Regions from separate parts of the Homo sapiens genome. Here region 1 is linked to region 2. Evidence: promoter capture Hi-C in 16 types of primary human blood cells and fetal thymus (Javierre and others, 2016). All regions are on one chromosome and are shown on one strand. Each heading gives the region's core, a stretch centred on a gene start or on the middle of the fragment in contact. The rest is flanking DNA. Distances are from core to core; before and after follow the strand shown.

Region 1 (6,378 bases), core at 3,879-6,378, 320 kb before region 2:
ATGGAGTCTCGCTCTGTTGCCAGGCTGGACTGTAGTGGCTCAATCTTGGCTCACTGAACCTCTGCCTCCCAGGTTCAAGTGATTCTCCTCCCTCAGCCTCCTGAGTAGCTGGGATTATAGGCATCTGCCTAATTTTTGTATTTTTAGTAGAGATGGGGTTTCACCATAATGGCCAAGCTGGTCTTGAGCTCCTGACCTCATGATCCACCTGCCTCAGCCTCCCAAAGTACTGGGATTACAGGCGTGAGCCACCATGCCCTGGCCACAGCATTTCTTTTCCTTCTTCTTTTTTTTTTTTTCCTTTTTGAGATGAAGTCTCTCTCTGTTGCCCAGGCTGGAGTGCAGTGGCATGATCTCAGCTCACTGCAACCTCCGCCTCCTGGGTTCAAGCAATTCTCCTGGCTCAGCCTCCTGAGTAGCTGGGATTACAGGCACACACCACCACGCCCAGCTAATTTTTTGTATTTTTAGTAGATATGGGGTTTCCCCATGTTGGCCAGGCTGGTCTCGAACTCCTGACCTCAGGTGATCCTCCTGCCTCAGCCTTCCAAAGTGTTGGGATTACAGGCTAGGCCACTGCACCTAGCCCATTAACAGCATTTCTTCTGCTAACCTCCCACTCTCGTGCACCCATCAAAAGGAAATGAGACTTCTTAGTGGGTGGCTGATTCTGTGTCTTGGAACAAGGAAAATTTGGAATGGGCCTAGAACACAAGGATTTTAGGCCAGCAATGGTAGAAGGATAAGGAAGCCACTGTCCAAATTGCAACAATTTGACATCAAAAAAGGAACATAGTAATTATGTTTATTTATAATTGACAATTATGATTAAAATAAGTTCAGTGTGTGAAAGACCTCAAAATAAAAAAAAGTTGATATATGATTTTCTGATATATGACATATGATTTTTCTCTGCTTTTATGATATTTGAAGCATCATAAAGGGGACGCGGAGCTGGAGTGTCACAGGGGCTGAGGCAATGTAATTGGTTAAGCCACCAGTAGGGTGTGTGATCACCAACAAAAAGAAAAAGTCCTACACTGAAAGCCCATGGGGTTGAAGCAGGATTTGGTTCACGCTAGAACTTCTGAGAGTCAGTGTGTATCTTGATAAACAGCAACAGAGCTTAGTCATGAGTTCCCTGTAACTGGCTGCTCAGAGAGTTTGCTCCCCACCTCCTGGGGAGAACTTACCTGGGAAGAGGCCAATGTTTCTATCTAAGCCTGTCCCGTCCTCTGAGTTTCCAACCTTCTAATTTCACGTTGGGAGTGCCTCCGAACATGTTTTTGCTGAGTCATTTGTGGAGCTCTAGAATTGTTGAACCTATCATTTGTTTTCCAAGTTAGGGGCAAACAGTAATATATTGCTCATTTATTATTCAACCAAGATATCTGGAGTCCTCCTCATGTGTTAGGCCAGGGCTAGGCACAGGGTTTAAGTGCAAGAGTGAGCAAAGCAGGCATGGAGCTGCACTCATGGGGCCTAGTCTAGTGGGGAAGACGGACATGATCCAAATAATCACAAAGTGACGTTTGGTAGAGAGCAAAGTAAAAGGGGTGCTTTGGCAGGCCCAGAAGAGGAACTTGATCATGACTCATGGTGGGTGGGCAGGGAGGCTTCCTTGAGAAAGTGATACCAATGTGGAGGACTGAATTATGTGAAGAGGCAGAAGAGTGTTCTAAGAAGGGGGGTGTGTAAAAGCCCAAGCTCGGAGGAGGGCTGGAGTGTGTTGCATTGGAGGAACCAAGATGACATTGGCTGTGCTTTGTGGAATGAGGTGAAGGAGACCAGGTGAGGTGCGGTAGACAAGGTCCAGCTGAGGTAAGCTTTCAGAGGCCATATAAAGATTTTTTTTTTTTTGGTAAGAGCATTATTGAGATATAATTCACACACCACAAAATTCACACATTTAAAATGCACAATTTGGTAGCCAGTTGAGGTAGCTCATGCCTGTAATCCCAGCACTTTGGGAAGCAGAGACAGGTGGATCACTTGAGGCCAGGAGTTCAAGACCAGCCTGGCCAACATACTGAAACCCCGTCTCTACTAAAAATACAATTAGTTGGGTATGGTGGCACATGCCTGTAATCCCAGCTACTTGGGAGGCTGAGGCAGGAGAATCACTTGAATCCAGGAGGTGGAGGTTGCAGTGAGCTGAGATTGCGCCACTGCACTCCAGTCTGGGGCAACAGAGAGAGACTCCATCTCAAAAAGAAAAAAAAAAGAAAAGAAAAGAAAAGAAATGCTGTGGCTGGGGTGCGGTGGCTCACACCTGTAATCCCAGCACTTTGGGAGGCCAAGGTGGGTGGATCACTTGAAGTCAGGAGTTTGAGACCAGCCTGGCCAACATTGTGAAACGCCATCTCTACTAAAAATATAAAAATTAGCCTGGTGTGGTGGTGGGTGCCTGTAATCCCAGCTACTCGGGAGGCTGAGGCAGGAGAATTGATTGAACCTGGGAGGCGGAAGTTGCAGTGACCTGAGATCACACCATTGCACTCCAGCCTGGGGGATGAGAGCAAAACTCTGTCTCAAAAAAATAAAATAAAATAAATAAATAATGTACAATTCAGCCGGGCATGGTGGCTCATGCCTATAATCCCAGCACTTTGGGAAGCCAAGGTGGGAGGATTGCTTGAGGCCAGGAGTTTGAGATCAGCCTGAGCAACACAGTGCAACTTCATCTCTATGAAAAATTAAAAAGTTACCCAGGCATTGTGGTATCTACCTGTATTCCCAACTACTCTGGAGGCTAAGTTGGGAGGATCTCTTGAGCCCAGGAGGTTGAGGCTGCAGTGAGCTATGACCATGCCACCGTGCTCCAGCCTGGGTAATAGAGTGAGACTCTCTCAAAAAAAAAAAAAAAAAAGAAAGAAATTAAAAAAAGAAAAAAATACAATTCATTGGTTTTTAGTATATTCACAGAGTTGTACATAACCACAGTCAATTTGAGAACATTTTCGTCACCCTAAAAAAAAAACCCTGCAGCCTTCAGCAGTCACTCTCCATTTCCCCCAAACATCTAGCCTTAGGCAACCACCAATCTACTTTCTGTCTCTATGGATTTGCCGATTCTGGACATTTCTATAAATGGAATTATATGGTATGTGATCTTTTGTGCCTTGCTTCTTTCACTTAGTATAATGTTTTCAAGGTTCATCCACACTCTAGCATGTATTCATACTTCATTCCTTCCATGGCCAAATAATATTGCACTCTATGGCTAGGCTATATTTTGTTTATTTATCATTAGTTGATGGACATTCAGGTTGTTTCTGCTTTTTAGCTATTATGAATAATCCTGCTCTGAATATTCATGTACAAGTTTTTTTCCTTTTTAAAATTTATGTATGTATTAATTTAAAAATGGAGAGATGGGTAGAAAATAAAAGATGAAGGAAAAAGATACAAAAAGAAGTGAGACCAGACAGGGTGGCTCACTCCTGTAATCTCAGTACTTTGGGAGGCCGAGGCGGGTGTATTACTTAAGGTCAGGAGTTCAAGACCAGCCTGACCAACATGGTGAAACCCAGTCTCTACTAAAAACATAAAAATTAGCCATATGTGGTGGTGTGTGCTTGTAATCCCAGCTACTCGGGAGGCTGAGGTAGAAGAATTGCTTGAACCTGGGAGGTGGAGGTTTCAGTGAGCTGAGATTAAGCCACTGCATTCTAGCCTGGGCAACAGAGCAAGACTCCGTCTTAAAAAAAAAAAAAAAAAGCAGAAATGAAAAAACACACAAAAAAGCAAAAAATAAAGACGGGGGTCTCACTACGTTGCTCAGGCTGGTCTTATATTCCTGGACTCAAGCAATCCTATCTCTTCGGCCTTCCAAAGTGCTGGAATTACAGGCATGAGCCACGGCGCCTGGCCAAGTTTTTCATAATAAAGATTTATATCCTAAGAACAGTGATAATCCATTAAAAAGTTTCAAGCAAGAGTGTGATATCAGATTTTGGGTTTAAAAAGATCACTCCATCAGTCTTCTGGTGAATGGATATGAAAAGGGCGAGAGTGAATGCAGGGAACATTTACGAAGCCCATTGCAGCTGGACTCGTTGGTTCACACCTGTAATCCCAGAACTTTGGGAGGCCGAGGCAGGTAGATCACCTGTGGTCAGAAGTTCTAGGCCAGCCTGGCCAACATGGTGAAACCCCGTCTCTACTAAACATATAAAAATTAGCTGGGCGTGGTGACATGGGCCTGTAATCCTAGCTACTTGGGAGGCTGAGGCAGGAGAATGACTTGAACCTGGGAGGCGGAGGTTGCAGTGAGCCAAGATCAGCCTGGGCAACAAGGTGAAACTCCGTCTCAAAAAAAAAAAAAGAAAAAAAGAAGGCCATTGCAGGCCATTGCCATTGATGGTGGTGACTTTTATCTGGGGTAGGCAGCAGTAGAAATGGCAAGAAATGGCAGATTTTAGAGATATTTAAGGGGTAAAAGTAAGAGGATTTGATGGATGGAGGATGGATGGGAAGGAGGAAGATAGCGTGTGGATGGATGGACTTACCATTCACTGAGATACAGAATTGTAGAGATGACCAGGTTTGGGGTAAAATATTAAGAACCTAAACTGGGTGTGGTGGCTCACACCTGTAATCCTAGCACTTTGAGAGGCTGAGGCAGGAGGATCATTTGAGTCTAGGTGTTCAAGACCAGCCTGGGCAACATAGAGAGCCCTTGTCTTTACAAAAAAAAAAAATTTTTTTTTGTTTGAAAAGGAGTTTCACTCTTGTTACCCAGGTTGGAGTGCAGTGGCGCAATCTCAGCTCACTGCAATCTCTGCCTCCCAGGTTCAAGTGATTCTCCTGCCTCAGCCTCCCAAGTAGCTGGGATTACAGGCATGCACCACCACATTTGGCTAATTTTTTGTACTTAGTAGAGACAGGGTTTCACCATGTTGGCCAGACGGATCTTGAACTCCTGACCTCAGGTGATCCATCTGCCTCGGCCTCCCAAAGTGCTGAGATTACAGGCGTGAGCCTCCGCGCTCGGCCTATACTAGCTATTTTAATTCCAGAAATGTCTGGAATATAGCAGATGCTTGATAAATACTTGTGAAATGAACGAATTGTTCCAGCTGAAAAATTATTAAATTAAAAGATGGACCCTGCTTACATAAGTGGTAATCATAAGGGATTTTATGAACAAATAATTTGAAACCTTTAGAGTTAAAAATTTCTTATTACAGTAATAAAGATGTTAACTTTAAGTTGACAGTAATCTAAGTGTTCTGTTAATTGAATGATCAACTTGTTGGCTGTCAGAGAAGGAAGGAAACGAGTAGATTGGCACTAAGACATTCAAAGCCCCAGCAGGAAGCTGAGGCTCAGCAGAGCCAAGGAGTCAAGGGTCTTCCGGAATGTTCCCCTGCAGGGATGGGCCACAGCTTGGGGGTATGGACGAGCGGCAGGCAGGGCAGGTGAGCCTCAGCGAGCAAGGAGGTCTTTGAACCCAGAGTGCAAGATATTGAAACAGAAAATAATTAATTTGCCTCAGTTTATTTTTAATTTTTTGTTTTTCTTAAACTGAGTGTTGTTTTTTTTTTTGAAACTGAGGTTCATTTATAAAAGAACACATGTTGTTGTAGCTATGTAAGAAAATGTCCTTGCTTTTGGGAGACACATGAAATTATTTAGAAGTGAAGGCCATGGTGACTGTAAATTTTGCTGAAACGAATGATCAAAAACGAAGAATATGTACACATATATAGCGAGAGATTGATAGAGCAATGTGGCAACATGTGAATACTGTAGTTGGTGATTTACATGAAGAATATACAGAAATTCATTGCTTTTTTTTTTTTTTTTTTTTTTTTTTTGAGACGGAGTCTCGCTCTGTCGCCCAGGCTGGAGTGCAGTGGCGCAATCTGGGCTCACGGCAAGCTCCGCCTCCCGGGTTCATGCCATTCTCCTGCCTCAGCCTCCTGAGCAGTTGGGACTACAGGCGCCCGCCACCATGCCCAGCTAATTTTTTGTATTTTTAGTAGAGACAGGGTTTCACCGTGTTAGCCAGGATGGTCTCGATCTCCTGACCTCGTGATCTGCCCGCCTCGGCCTCCCAAAGTGCTGGGATTACAGGCGTGAGCCACCGTGCGCAGCGCTTTTTTTTTTTTTTTTTTTTGAGACAGTGTCTTGCTGTGTTGTCCAGACTGGACACTCAGTGGGACAATCTCGGCTCACTACAACCTCTGCCTCCCTGGTTCAAATGATTCTCCTGCCTCAGCCTCCCGAGTAGCTGGGATTACAGGCGTGCACCACCAAGCCTGGCTAATTTTTTTGTATTTTAAGTAGAGATGGGTTTTACTATGTTGCCCAGGCTGATTGCGAACCATTGCATTTTTAAAATTGATTTTTTTCAAAACAGAGTAGAAGGCC
Region 2 (5,807 bases), core at 1,542-4,041:
AGTCCAGAGCCTGTCCCCCCAGCAATGGAGTGACACAGCACAAAGCCCTGCATGGGGAAGGGGCAGTCAGTGTACAGGTATCTAGTGGCAGGATGTCAAACTAGACCCATCTCATAGTTTTTTAGGACTCCCATTTTCCCGAGCCCTTGCTTCCCATCCAGTCCCCTCACTTATACAGCTTAGGCAACTGCCTTGTTTCTGGCAAGGCCTGATAGCTTCTGTCCAGTGCAAAGGGTACATGAGTGGGTCTTGTTCCTAACAGGTCGCTTCTAGAGGGTGCTGCCAAGCCTTGCCCATGTCGGCTCCTACCAGCATTCCTGGGACACTTACCTCTAGACTGTCACTACCATCTGCCTCCCGGTCTATGATGTCAAAAATGTCCTCATGGATCTTTTCTCCCTGTACAGACATAGGGGAGGGTCAGAGTGGGACAGAACCATGGGAGGTCTCTGACCTCAGAAAAGCCACCCTCAATTCTCCTTATAACACCCAGAAGTCCTTTTATGGAGCATAGCTACCTGCTTTTATCTACATTGAGAGGCAGTACGGTGCAGTGGTTACAAGAAAGCACTCTACACCCAGACTACCTGGGTTCATACATTAGCTCTATTTTTTTTTGCGATGGAGTCTCTCTCTTTCTCCCAGGCTGGAGTGCAGTGGCGCGATCTTGGCTCATGGCAACCTCCGTCTCCTGGGTTCAAGCGATTCTCCTGCCTCAGCCTCCCCAGTAGCTGGGATTATAGGCGCATGCCACCATGCCCAGCTATTTTTTGTATTTTTAGTAGAATCAGAGTTTCACCATGTTGGCTAGGCTGGTCTTGAACTCCTGACCTCAGGTGATCTGCCTGCCTTGGCCTCCCAAAGTGCTAGGATTACAGGCGTGAGCCACCACGCCTGGCCCATTAACTCTACTTCTATGTAGCTCTGGGCAGCTTATTTAATTGCTCTATGCCTCAGTTTCCTCATCTGTACAATGAAGGTAATAATACAGGTCCATATACCCTTATCTAACAGTGTTGGGGCCAGTTATGTTTTGGAATTCAAAATATTTCAGATTTTAGAAAGGTATTATGGTATATATACTATATATTAAATAAAATTCCAGTGGGAATTTTTATTTAATCAGAAGCACGTTAATCAAATATATTAGTATTTCTGTAATAAAAGGCATCACTAATGACAGTAAGTTGGATAGAAACTATAGGGCCGGGCATGGCGGTTCACGCCTGCAATCCCAGCACTTTGGGAGGCCGAGGCAGGTGGATCACGAGGTCAGGAGATCAAGACCACCCTGGCTAACACAGTAAAACCCCGTCTCTACTAAAAATACAAAAATTAGCCAGGCGTGATGGCAAGCACCTGTAATCCCAGCTACTCGGGAGGCTGAGGCAGGAGAATCGCTTGAACCCGGGCAGCAGAGGTTGCAGTGAGCTGAGAGCGTGCCACTGCACTCCAGCCTGGGCGACAGAGTGAGACTCCGTCTCAAAAAAAATAAATAAATAAAAATTAAAAAAAAGAAACTATAAAACAGCCTGTCTTCATTGAAATTTGTTTTTGCTGATAAACTAGTTATGAAATGTCCTTTGGTTTCATGGCTTTCTGGATCCTGGAAAGGCAGATAAGGGACTGTGGACCTGTAGTACTTACTTCTAGGGTTGTTGGGAGATTTAGAAAAATTAATATATGTAAAGCACTTAGAATGACCTGGCACACTGCATTAGCTAGTGTAGGCGCTTGACAATATTACATAGTCCACTCCCTGCAGCCAGGTCTCTCCCTCCAGCATTCATACATCCCTGATCCGGTTTTCCCTCTCTTCGGGACGTCATAGAGCCTGTCCCTACCCAGCGAGTTGTGGGCCCTGCCAGGGAATAGGAAACGACCTGGGAGAATCCGCTGGCCCAGTTGTTGCCAGCTCCTCCTCCATGTTCCGACAGGTAGATGTTCTCTGGGTTGTAGAGCTTGGCATAGGGGGAGTTGAGGATGGAGTGGATCACCCGGGGTTCCAAGTCCAGCAGCACGGCCCGGGGGATGTAGTGCTCATCGTCTGCCTGTCAAGGGGAGTCCAGGAGGGGGCCCAATCAGCTAGGGCGGCCCAAGTCCGAAGTCCTCCCAACTCTGGCTCCCTCCGGCCCTCCCTCCTCAAGCCAGCCGCCTGGCCCTACTGCCCAGCGGGGTTCCCAGTACCAGGCCACTCCCTTCCCTTCCGCCCCCTTGGGCAACTGCCGCCCCCGGCCAAGTCGCTGGGGGCACCTGGTAGAAAAAGACGTCCTTGCGGTCAGTGCCCTCGGTGGCGAACTCCTCCACGATGCCCTCGGGGCTGATACCATGCTCGGCGCACAGCTGTTTCCAGAACTCGAACCCAACTGGGGGGAAGGGGCGGGCAGGGGAGAAAGAAGATATCTAGGTCCGGGCAGGTTCCAATCAGGAGCCGGGGGACTGGGCGCCTGCGTCCAGGGATAAGAAGTCAAGCCGCAGGACTCTCCCGTGTCTGAGGAAAGGACTGTACGCCAGGGACTGGGCAGGGGAGGGCCCCTCGGGGTTGGGCAAGTGGACACTGGGTCAGGGATGTCTCGCCTTTCAGAGAACTACGATTCTGGCAAGGACAGATGGAGTCCAGGATCCCACAGCGAGATCCCATTGACCCTAAGGAACCTGGCTAGCTGAGGGGCCGGAGTTTCGCTCACTCTGATTGCCGCACTGGCCCAACTGTAGGGTGATGATTTCCCTCGGCATCGCTCCTCAGGCACCGGCGTTGCAGCCGCTCCCGCCCGCAACGGCGCCGCACGCCAGCCCGCTCGCCGCAAGACGCAGGCGCCAAACAACCAGCTCCACCCACGAACTTCCTCCGCTCCAATGAGAATCGAGTTCTGGCAATGAATGGCACGTCTTTAAGCACTGGCCTTCGTTCATGCAGATTGCGCGTGCGCGGCTCCGGATGCGGCTCGGCGCCTCCGGATCCGGCTCCGCGCCTCAGTGAGGGCGGGGTACGGCGTCCTCCCTCCCCTCTGGGTGGGCGCCTGCTTGGGCCTGCGCGCAAGCGCGCTGTGGTGCGAAGCCACCTCCCCCGCCGAATCGCGCATCTGCGCAGTTGCTGTTATTGTGACTTGTCGGGCCACGGCCCCGGATGTTGTGGCTGCCGCGGGGAGATGGCTGAGGCCGAAGGGGTTCCCACGACCCCAGGCCCGGCTTCGGGGTCGACTTTCAGGGGCCGCCGAGATGTGTCAGGCTCCTGGGAGCGGGACCAGCAGGTTGAGGCGGCGCAGCGGGCCCTGGTGGAGGTGCTGGGGCCTTACGAGCCTCTGCTGAGTCGGGTGCAGGCAGCCCTGGTGTGGGAGCGGCCAGCTAGGAGCGCTCTGTGGTGCCTGGGGCTGAACGCGGCTTTCTGGTGAGAGAACTGGACCCTCGGAAACCCTCCGAGTCCCGAATTCGTTGGTTCCTCTAGGGCTCTACTTCTCGCCTGCCCTGTTTTCTTCGCTGCACTGGCTCCTTCCTGTACTTGCCTAATTTTGCCTCACCTCCTTCCACTCCATCCCGCCTGCAGGCTTCGGCACCCTAGTTCTTCCCAGGGCCGTCCACCCATCTTCTCTGCCTTACCTGTGCCCGCACCCCCGCCCCGCACATCTGGCGGGAGCTTCTGGTAACATCTTGAGCCGCTCAAGAGTGAGCGAGGGCTCCTCTTTTGAGCCCGACAAAGCTGCGTCCCTTTAAAGCCATCACTTCCTTTCTCTTGTCTGCTCAAGTGCAAGTTCTAGATTGTTTCCAGAGGTTTTAGTAGTTTATTGTTGGAGTAGAGGCGTGAAGTCTTGCAAAGGTATCCATAGGTGTGATTATAAAACAAGCTTGAGCGATTCGCATGAATTAGCATGTTATATATCTAGGAAGGAAGTTTATGAAGTCTAAGCGTCAGTGTGAGCCCCCAAAGCTGAAAATTGAAAGAAAATTACAAGCTTTTAAAGAACAGTTAGGAAATGATGACGGAGATTACACGCGTGTCAAAGCCACCTGTGATTGTAACTCCTCCCTGTTCCAAGGAATTAGAGAGGCATCCTTAGCCATGGTTTATAGGCAAGGAAATTGATGTCTAATACTGTGTGTGAGTTTTCCTGAGCTGGAAAAGTAGCACTGTAAATATGCTTTATTTGTGTGTGTCATGCTCTGTGAAAATGGAACTGCTGCTTCTCTCAGTTGTCATCACCTGAAGTGGACCTAGGACTTCATAGGATCTACCAACCATAATTTTGGATTTATTTGTAATGGAGGAGGTTCCAAGGGAACTGACTTATAGGGGGCTTTCTGCTGCTGAATGGATTAAGACTATTCTGGATAAGCCTGAAACAACAAAATATGTGTGTTTTTTAATTGTGTTTTTGCTAAAAATAGCTTTCCCCTTAAAATTTGTTTTAAAATCAAAACATTTATTATCCTTTATCTGAAAGATTTTCAGTGAGCTGAAGCAGAACAAATAATTCCAAGTTCATTGACCCGAAAACAGTGTTCAGCTATTAAGCTAATCCTCTCCCAGTTTGAAAGAGACCCAGTTAAAGGTGTCACAGTAGTCTCTGGCATTTGTGGCTTCCAGAGCCTTTAGCAAACTCGATGGTAAACTTTTCCTACCACGTTCTTCATTTATTTTTGGTAGTGCTTTTTCCCTTTTTTTTTTTTTTAAGACAGAGTTTCACTCTTATTGCCCAGGCTGGAGTGCAATGGCGTGATCTCGGCTCACTGCAACCTCCGCCTCCCAGATTCAAGCATTTCTCCTGCCTCAGCCCCCCAAGTAGCTGGGATTACAGGCATGAACCACCACAACCGGCTAATTTTGTATTTTTTTAGTAGAGATGGGGTTTCTCCATGTTGGTCAGGCTGGTCTCGAACTCCCGAGGTCAGGTGATCTGCCTGCCTCGGCCTCCCAAAGTGCTGGGATTACAGGCGTGAGCCACTGCGCCTGGCCTTTTTTTTTTTTTTTTTTTTTTTGAGACAAGGTCTTGCTCTATCACCCAGGCTGGAGTGCAGTGGTATGATCTCGGCTCATTGCAACTTCCACTTCCTGGGCTCAAGCAATCTTCCCACCTCAGCCTCCACAATAGCTGGGACCAGAGGTGCACATCATCATGCTTGGCTAATTTTTTAAATTTTTTGTGGAGACAGGGTCTCACTATATTGCCCAGGCTGGTCTCGAACTCCTAGGCTCTGGTGATCCTCCTGCCTTGGGCTCCCAGAGTGCTGGGATTATAGGCATGAGCCACCGTGCCCAGCCAAGTGCTTCTTCCTTGACCCCTAGGTACTGATTCCCATTGCTCTCTGTAGAAATCTTCACTATAGCACCTCACTGAAGAGTGTTTTATCCAGTCAAAACATTTCCCACAGTGGTTTTGGTATCTCTAGCAAGAAGGCTGGGCCTCATTAAACCAATTTGTATCAAAGTATGACTGCCTGATGGAAAAAAACACTTTATCAGGGTTTACTTATTTTTGTTTTGAGACAGTTTGGCTCTTGTTGCCCAGGCTGGAGTGCAATGGCACGATCTCAGCTCACTACAACCTCCTCCTCCCAGGTTCAAGCGATTCTCCTGCCTCAGCCTCCCGAGCAGCTGGGATTACAGGCATGCGCCACCAATGCCTGGCTAATTTTTGTATTTTTTTGTAGAGACAGTTTTGCCAGGTTGCCCAGGCTCGTCTCAAACTCCTGACCTCAAAGCAATCCACCTGTCTCAGCCTCCCGATGTGCTGGGATTACAGGTGTGAGCCACTGCACTGTACCGGGCCTTAAATGGATTTTTAAACCAAAGATTTATGAATGCAAATGAA

The links. The method cuts DNA at HindIII sites, captures the fragments that hold promoters and counts their contacts. A CHiCAGO score of 5 or more calls a contact.
Region 1: a fragment that was not itself captured here is called in contact with the fragment with the promoter of TUBG1 in region 2 in 1 of 17 cell types (megakaryocytes); the score reaches 5.2 in megakaryocytes.

The regions. Positions count from the first base shown.
Region 1 is chr17:42,924,060-42,930,437 of GRCh38, reverse strand. No RefSeq gene overlaps it. Among named protein-coding and RNA genes, the nearest start is that of G6PC1, 26 kb to the right of the region's middle. RefSeq lists enhancers at 1,374-1,523, 1,413-1,989. The HindIII fragment of the contact is 6,600 bases long and covers 1,829-6,378 here.
Region 2 is chr17:42,606,667-42,612,473 of GRCh38, reverse strand. TUBG1 (tubulin gamma 1) reads right to left here and starts at 2,791. Exons shown (of 11, transcript NM_001070.5): 1 at 2,688-2,791; 2 at 2,254-2,366; 3 at 1,884-2,051; 4 at 331-399; 5 at 1-47. The coding sequence starts at 2,736. RETREG3 (reticulophagy regulator family member 3) reads left to right here and starts at 3,100. Exons shown (of 9, transcript NM_178126.4): 1 at 3,100-3,388. The coding sequence starts at 3,150. RefSeq lists an enhancer at 3,109-3,218. The HindIII fragment of the contact is 4,939 bases long and covers 1-3,844 here.